Linked DNA regions of Homo sapiens: region 2 is linked to region 1. The links are contacts of gene promoters, found by promoter capture Hi-C in human tissues and cell types (Jung and others, 2019). All regions are on one chromosome and are shown on one strand. Each heading gives the region's core, a stretch centred on a gene start or on the middle of the fragment in contact. The rest is flanking DNA. Distances are from core to core; before and after follow the strand shown. Region 1 holds the start of RBP1 (retinol binding protein 1). Region 2 has its middle 11 kb from the start of CLSTN2.

The links. Contacts are between HindIII fragments. The study calls those that stand out against the background at their distance.
Region 2: a fragment that was not itself captured here is called in contact with the fragment with the promoter of RBP1 in region 1 in 1 of the 25 tissues and cell types used here (dorsolateral prefrontal cortex).

What each region holds. Positions count from the first base shown.
Region 1 is chr3:139,537,703-139,541,503 of GRCh38, reverse strand. RBP1 (retinol binding protein 1) reads left to right here and starts at 1,762. Exons shown (of 4, transcript NM_002899.5): 1 at 1,762-2,044; 2 at 2,545-2,723. The coding sequence starts at 1,786. The region is part of intron 3 of COPB2-DT (COPB2 divergent transcript); the gene reads right to left. RefSeq lists an enhancer at 2,687-3,801. The HindIII fragment of the contact is 8,428 bases long and covers 1-3,801 here.
Region 2 is chr3:139,921,747-139,925,977 of GRCh38, reverse strand. No RefSeq gene overlaps it. Among named protein-coding and RNA genes, the nearest start is that of CLSTN2, 11 kb to the left of the region's middle. The HindIII fragment of the contact is 5,320 bases long and covers 1-4,231 here.

The sequences.
Region 1 (3,801 bases), core at 513-3,012:
CCTTGCGAGGTGTCTTATTGCACCTTCAGGTTGGAAGGACTGGGATAGGTTGCCCTGAGTGCCCAGCCAAGATGAGCCCTGGGCTGGCTAGGGAGGGACACAGAGCCAGTGCTTGTGTGAACAACTGATGACCTAACCATCCAGAGCCAGACAAAGAAGCAGTGGGAAACAAGGGCCTAGAGCTGGCTCTCAACCAGGGCTGGTTTACCCAGCACCCACACCCCAGTGCCTTTGACAATGTCTGGCGACATCTTTGTGTCTGGGTGCCACTGGGATCTAATGGGTAGAGGCCAGGGATGCCACTAAATATCCTACAGTACACAGGACAGGCTCCTGTAACAAAGACTTATGTGGCCTAGAATGTCAGTAGCACAGAGATTAAGAAACAAATCCTAGTCTAGGGAAAGAGGGTGAGAAGCGCTGAAATCCAAGTTGCTGCCTGGGAGGAAGCTGTCTCTACCCTGAGGAAGAGGCTCCTTTTCCTAATTCAGCCTGCACTGTGAGAACACATGTGAGCCCCAGGGAGGCACCCTGGGGAAGGTGGTGCTAGAGGGGAAGAAAATGTTATCTGCTGTCACTTAGGCTGTGATTTGTGCAAAAAGCGATTTAAAAGAGGTAGTCAAAAAGAGGGTCAAAAAGTCAGCCCATGTGATTATGTCATCTACTTGGTGGCAAATGCAGTTAAACCACAATGACATACCCACGCAGGTGACAAAGGAGATGTGATCAAAGATTTTCATTGCAGTACTGCTTTTAATAGTGAAAGATCAGAAACAATATAGTTTGTCCATCAGGGGACAAGCTGGATAAGCAATGGAATACTCCGTAAAATAATGGGGATACTTTCTATGTACAGCTATGGAAAAGTCTCCAGAATATATTAAGTGAATAAAGCAAAGTCCAGAACACCGTGGAGTACAGTGCTGCCATTAGGTGAAACGGGAGGAAACATTAATAAACAGTATATTGCTTACATTTGCATAAAGCAGCAGTGGATCTCAAAGTTGATTGTGCATCAGAATCACCCAGAAGGCTTTTTTAGCCACATGCACTTCAAATAACATCAACTATTTTACTTATTTATTTATTTATTTATTGAGCCAGAGTCTCACTCTGTCGCCCAGGCTGGAGTGTAGTGGCACGATCTCGGCTCACTACAACCTCCTCCTCCCGGGTTCAAGCTATTCTCCTGCCTCAGCCTCCCGAGTAGTTGGGACTACAGGCGCCCGCGACCACGCCCGGCTAATTTTTTGTATTTTTAGTAGAGACGAGGTTTTACCGTGTTGCCCAGGCTGGTGTCGAATTCCTGACCTCAGGTGATCCGCCCGCCTCGGCCTCCCAAAGTGCTGGGATTACAGGCGTGAGCCGCCGTGCCCGGCATCCTTTCTTTTATTTTCGGGAGAGACGTGGAAAGTGCCCCAATTTTCTCGCCCGTAGTTGAACCTCCCAGCTTTCCTGACCCCAGCCACCACCGGCGCGAGGCTTTAGACAAAGGCCTGTAAGTGGCCTCTTTCCTTAATCACGCCAGCACAAACCCCAGGAGATTGTTTCCCAACTCCCGAGTGGCTGCTGAGTGTGAGAAGTTAATGGCGTTTGAAGGAAATCCCCAGCAGCCGAAGAGTTCGGCCAACAAAGCAAACGTCCCGTCTCCGGTCTCCTCTTCCTTTGTAGGGGAAACGAACTGAACGTCTGAAACGAAGGTGGCGCGGCCTGGACAAACCTGACCCTTCGACATCCCCCGCCCCTGCGCCCGCCCTCGCTAAGCGGGGAGGAGCGACCGCTACAATGGATCCTCCCGCAGGCTTTGTGCGCGCTGGGAATCCAGCTGTCGCCGCCCCGCAGAGCCCCCTGTCCCCGGAGGGCGCTCATTTCCGGGCCGCCCACCACCCGCGTAGCACCGGCAGCCGCTGTCCCGGCAGTCTCCAGCCGTCCCGCCCGCTTGTGGCCAACTGGCTCCAGTCACTCCCCGAAATGCCAGTCGACTTCACTGGGTACTGGAAGATGTTGGTCAACGAGAATTTCGAGGAGTACCTGCGCGCCCTCGGTAAGCGCTGCCCGCTGCGCCCTGGGCGCCCCGCCGAGCAGCTCCGGGCCGCTCCCTAGAGCCCTCCCGAGACGCTGCCTGCCTGCCTCCATCCCGGCGAGCCGCGGTCCGGTGCCCCCGGACGCCAGAAAGGGCGTCCTCGGCCACCGCTCCCAGGGCAGCCCCCAGGCTGCAGATTGGAGAATTCGGGGTTGTTAGGTTAACCGGTGGCAAATGTCTGCTCGTTGGCCCTGGAGGTGGGTAATTTCATTAGTAAATCTGGGGCTTGGTTTGCTACTTTTTGTTTTTAAACGGTTAACATAAGAGCAGAAAACTTTGTTGGGGGCGGCAGGGGAGGCACAGGCAGGCTGTGCGCAGAGACAACGCAAAGCCAGCGGGAACCCTAACAGTGTTCGCGGGCGGAGAGGGCTCCTGGGGCCCCGCTACCTTGGGAACGGTTCTCTGAGTTTCCCTGCCAACTCTCTGGCGCTCTCTCTCTCCCCGTTCAACCCCCACCGCAGACGTCAATGTGGCCTTGCGCAAAATCGCCAACTTGCTGAAGCCAGACAAAGAGATCGTGCAGGACGGTGACCATATGATCATCCGCACGCTGAGCACTTTTAGGAACTACATCATGGACTTCCAGGTTGGGAAGGAGTTTGAGGAGGATCTGACAGGCATAGATGACCGCAAGTGCATGGTGAGGATTCGCGTCCACCTGGTGTCTCCTGCCCAGGGGGCCTGACCAAGGGCTGGGCTAGTTCATCCGAGAGGGGGCAAGGGCCTGAGGGACTGAAAACTCTTCCCACTCTCAGCCCCCATGGTGGGCAGCACCAACTCATGAAGCATCCTGCTCTATCTACACTGGAAGGTGATGGTTATGAAGGCTGCCATGTGCTGTGTCTCCACTGCGTTCAGGCACTCTGCCCGGTGCTTTATGCACATGACTTCACCTAAGCCTCACACAGCCTTTGAGGGAGATATGAATATGCCCATTTTACAGATGAAGAAACAGTCTCAAAGAGATGAAGTAACATGTCCAGAGTAGCACAGCTAGGGAGGGTCTGGAGTTCAAAGCATGTCTGTTGATGCCGTTCTCTGGCTGACTGGGCTGGTGGAGGGTAAAAGAAAAGAAAGGAGGAAAGAAAAAAGAAACACAGGTAACCCCTTTGAAGTGTAAACTTTCAGTATGACTTAGTGTGAAGTCACTCCAGGAAGCTGGGGGCCCCTTGATCTCTGCTGGAAGCCCCCTGATCTGCCCATCCTTGCCCCAGAGCTGGGATTTGGCTCCTGGCCATCCCCTGCCCCACCCTGTCATCCAATGCCTACTGAGCATTCTTTGAACTTTGCAGCTGACACCTATTCAGTAAGTCAGGGCCCCTCCAGCCCAGACCAGAGGAAACAGCAGTGGGGGAAGAGGGAGGGCCAAGAGCTCCCTTCCACAAGGGTGGGAAACTCCTGACCCAGGACATCCCAATTAGTACTGCCACAGCAGATGCCGGAAGGCCAGCCCCAGGCCTCCATCAACATTATCTGGTTGCTGGGAGGTCAAGGTACTCTTGTTCTCCCTTTATAGTCTTGGGTTCAGAAGTGGCTTATGTTCATCCCAGGAGCCACCTTGCTTATTGATGGGGTCCTCACCCACCACCTCCCACCATTTACCAAGGGTCTTTACCGCTGGTCTGCTGTGTGTCCAGCACTGTGCTAGTCATCTTACAGCACAGCACAGTGAGGGAGGGATAAGTAACCCCATGTTATGCAGTGACTGAGGCTCAGAC
Region 2 (4,231 bases), core at 1,198-3,697, 380 kb before region 1:
TAAGCAAAATAGGAACAAAATACTAGACAAAAGTAACATGAAAACTAAAATAGAGGGATCAAGATTAAAATATCCTAGGTTCCATATATTGTTCAAAAGGAGAGTAAAGATATAGAATACTTTCAGACTTTTCTCATGCAAGTGTTCTTGTCAAGATTTTAAGGGTGAACAGTTAAAGATTAGATAGAGAACAAATAGTTTCCAAAAAATCAAGAAGAAGAGGGGAATGAAAGGAAACCCATCCAATAAATGATAGTAAAGGAATAAAACGTGAAGAATAGAAAAGCAGGTTTATTAGAACAAAATAAATTGATATGATAAGTTCCTATGTACCACACTAAAAAGGGAAGGATTAGACTTATGTATTAATAATAGAGATTCTGAAGTTAGATATATTTTAATGCTATCATATGTTTGCAATTGGCACACTGAAAATATAAGTACACAGAAAAGTTGAAATGTACAATGTATATGTGAGTATGCATATATATTTACATATGTATTATATTGTGTATACACATATATGTGTGTGTGTATACATATATATAGATCATAAGTGTTGCTTTTTATTTTCACATAAAATAAAATTTAAGGCAAAAAAGTTCTAAAATTAATGAGGATCACTATATAAAGGTAAAATGTTCAATTTGTCAGAAAGACATAACAGTTCTAATCCTCCATGCACTTAGTAACATAATCTCAAAATATACAGAAAAGCAAAAATTTACAGAATAAAAGACTCACAAATTCACAGTCATAATAAAAGATGTTAATGTACTTCATTTTGCAATGTATGGACCAAAACAATAAACGTTAGTAACAATAGAGACAATTTGAACAACACTATTAACAACTGCTCAAATGGACAAATTTAAACCTAGCAATTAACAATTAAAGGAAACAATTTATCTTCAGGCACAAGTTAGCTATTTATAAAGTACATCTCAACAAATACTAAGGAATCTCTATTATGTAGACAATATTTTTGTTACTATTATACCAAAATACAATTAATAACAATTTTTAATATGCACATATTTGGAAATTGAGGGGAAAATCTTCTACATGGCCAATAGATAAAAGAGAAAGTAAAAATACAAATTAGAAAACATTTAGAACTGAACAACAGTGAAAATACTACATATCAACACTTACAGAATGAAGCTGAATGGAATTTAGAAATAATAGCCTTTAATGCTTATCTTAGAAAATAAGAAAGTCTGGGGAATTTTCTGTTGAGTATCCCAGACAAAAAGTCATAAAATGAACAACAATAGTTCTTAGGATTGTGTGATATTGCTAAAGCAATAGAAAAATAGAGAAATGGAACAGAATAGATAACTTGGAAATAGAAACATACTTGTATAAATACTTAATGTATGCTTAGAAGTCAATGAAGGAAAAGATGGACTACTCTATCAATGGTAATAAAATCATTTCAATGGAACAATGGCTTAATCTGAAAAATACAAAATTATAAGTTTTAGAAAAAATATTAGTAGAATATTTGTATGACTTAAAAGTAAGAAAGAATTTCTTAAACACAAAAGGCACAAATCATGAAGAAAAGTATTGATATATTCAACACATCAAAATTAAGAAATTTTGTTCATCAAAAGACACCAAAAATAAAGGGAAATAGAAAGCCATGAGGTGAAGATTGATATCTGTGACTCTTGTAACTAACAAAGGATTGGTCTCACATATATGAAGAATTTCTACGAATCAGTAACAATAAACAATTAAGAAAAAAGGGGAAATTTATAAACTGGCAATCCATAAAAAATAAGTCTGATAGGAAAATGCACAAGAAAAAAATGTTCAATATTATAGGTCATTGGGGAAATAAAAGTTAAAAATAACAGCAAAATACTATTTCACACTTAACAAATTAGAAAAGTTTTAAAAGTCTAATAATACTATATATTAGCGAGAATAAGGAGCAATGGGACTATTTATACACTGCTAATGGAAATATAATTGGTACAACCACTTTAGACAGCATGAGATAGAATCTACTAAAACTGAATATGCACATACTCTGCAACCTAGTATATTAATTTCCTAGTGCTGCCGTAACAAAGCACCACCACCAACCAGCTGGTTTAAACAATAGAAATTTATTCTGTCACAGTTCGGGAGGCTAGATGTCCAAATTCAAGATGTCAGTTGTGTGGTGCCTTCCGAAGCCTCTAGAGGAAGACCCTTCCTTGCCTTTTCTGGCTTTTAGTAGCTCTGGATGTTTGCGGGCTGGAGGCAGCATAATCTCCACCTCAATCTTCACATTGCATTCTCCTTGTGTCTCTGTATCTTTACACTGCCATCTTCTTAGACAAACACCAGTCATATGAGATTAGGAGCCACCCTACTTCAATGTGACCTCATCTTAACTGAACTAAATACATCTGCAATGACTGCAGTCAGCCCTCAATAGCTGTGGGGGCTGTAGGTTCCACGTCTGTGGATTCAACCAACAGCTAATTGAAATATTTGAAAGAAAAAAAAAAAGCATCTGTAGTAAACACGGATAGATGTTTTTTCTTGTCATTCTTTTCTTTTCTTTTCTTTTTTTGAGATGGAGTTTCACTGTTCGTGCCAGACTGCAGTGCAATGGCGTGTTCTCGGCTCACTGCAACCTCCACCTCCCGGGTTCAAGCAATTCTCCTGTCTCAGCCTCCCAAGTAACTGGGATTACAGGCACGGGCCACCATGCCCAGCTAATTTTTGTATTTTTAGTAGAGATGGGATTTCACCATGTTGGCCAGGCTGGTCTCGAACTCCTGACCTCAGGTGATCTGCCCACCTCGGCCTCCCAAAGTCCTGGGATTACAGGCATAAGCCTCTGCACCCAGCCCTTGTCATCATTTTCTAAACAATACAGTGTAACAATGAACTACATAACATTTTATTTCACTGTACTCTAGAGATGATTTAAGGTACATGGAAGGACATACGTAGGATAGGCACAAACACTATGCCATTTTATATAAGGGACTTGAGCATCCATGGATTTCTGGCATCCATGAGGAGTCCTGGAACCAATCACCCATGGATACTGTGTGACAACTGTATTTCCAAATAAGGTCATATTCTGAGGTACTAGTTTTTGGAGGACAAAATGTTACCCATAACATCTAGCCATAACTACTAGTTATACATATTTAAAATATACCCATGCACATGAAAACATATGTAAATGTTTGTTGCAGCATTTTTCATAATTATGAAAATATAAAATATAAACCTTTAACAGAAGATAAGTTTATAAATTATGATATATATTTAATGGAATATTAAATTAAATCAAATAGAATAAAACTAAATTAAATTTAATGAAATAGAAATTCTCCCATCACATGGGGAAACCAAAATACATAATGACAAACATAAAATAAAAGTTGGAAATTTTCTGTTTCAACAGAGTGATAGATTAGATATTAAAATAATGGACAAAATAGAGAAGTTTTAAACACATTCCTGAGCTGATGCAAAAATAAGGATTCCGCAAAATCTAAAATTAAGTGAAACCGGAAACACCGGGAAGTGTGTGAGCACCAAAGCTGGTTTTGCCGTTTGTGGTTTTTTAATTGGCACATAATGTTTGTACATATTTCTGGGGTACATGTGATATTTTGTTACATGCATAGAACATGTAATAGTCAAATTAGAATATTTAAGATATCCAGCACAGTGAGCATTTATTAGTTCTGTGTTGGGAAGATTTCAAATCCTCTCTTCCACCTATTTTGAAATATACAATACATTGTTGTTAACTATGTTAACTATAGTCACCCTACTATGCAGAAAGTAAAAATGAAGGTCCCAAAATGGTAGCACCTACAGGTGGCAGAAGCAACTGTGTGCACTGAGGAATAAAACTTTACCTAGGCATCAAAGAATCGCCACAGGTAAAGGGTGAGATAAAACAAGTAGCACAAAATACTATGTACACTTACATGAACACAAACAGGCAGAAAGAGGAGACAACAGAAACATACACAAAAGCACCAGGTATTGGAATTTACAGACATAAAAGTCTAAATTATGTTGAAGATATATCTAAAGAAATAAAAGACAAGCTTAGAAAGATCAATAGAATAGAAGGGATCATATATGAACAAGAAGATTTTGGAAAAAAAACAAATTCAACTTTAGAAATAAAAAATATACAATAAATATATTTGACTAAAAAACCAAAATGAGTAACATAATCAACAAACTTGATGTAGCT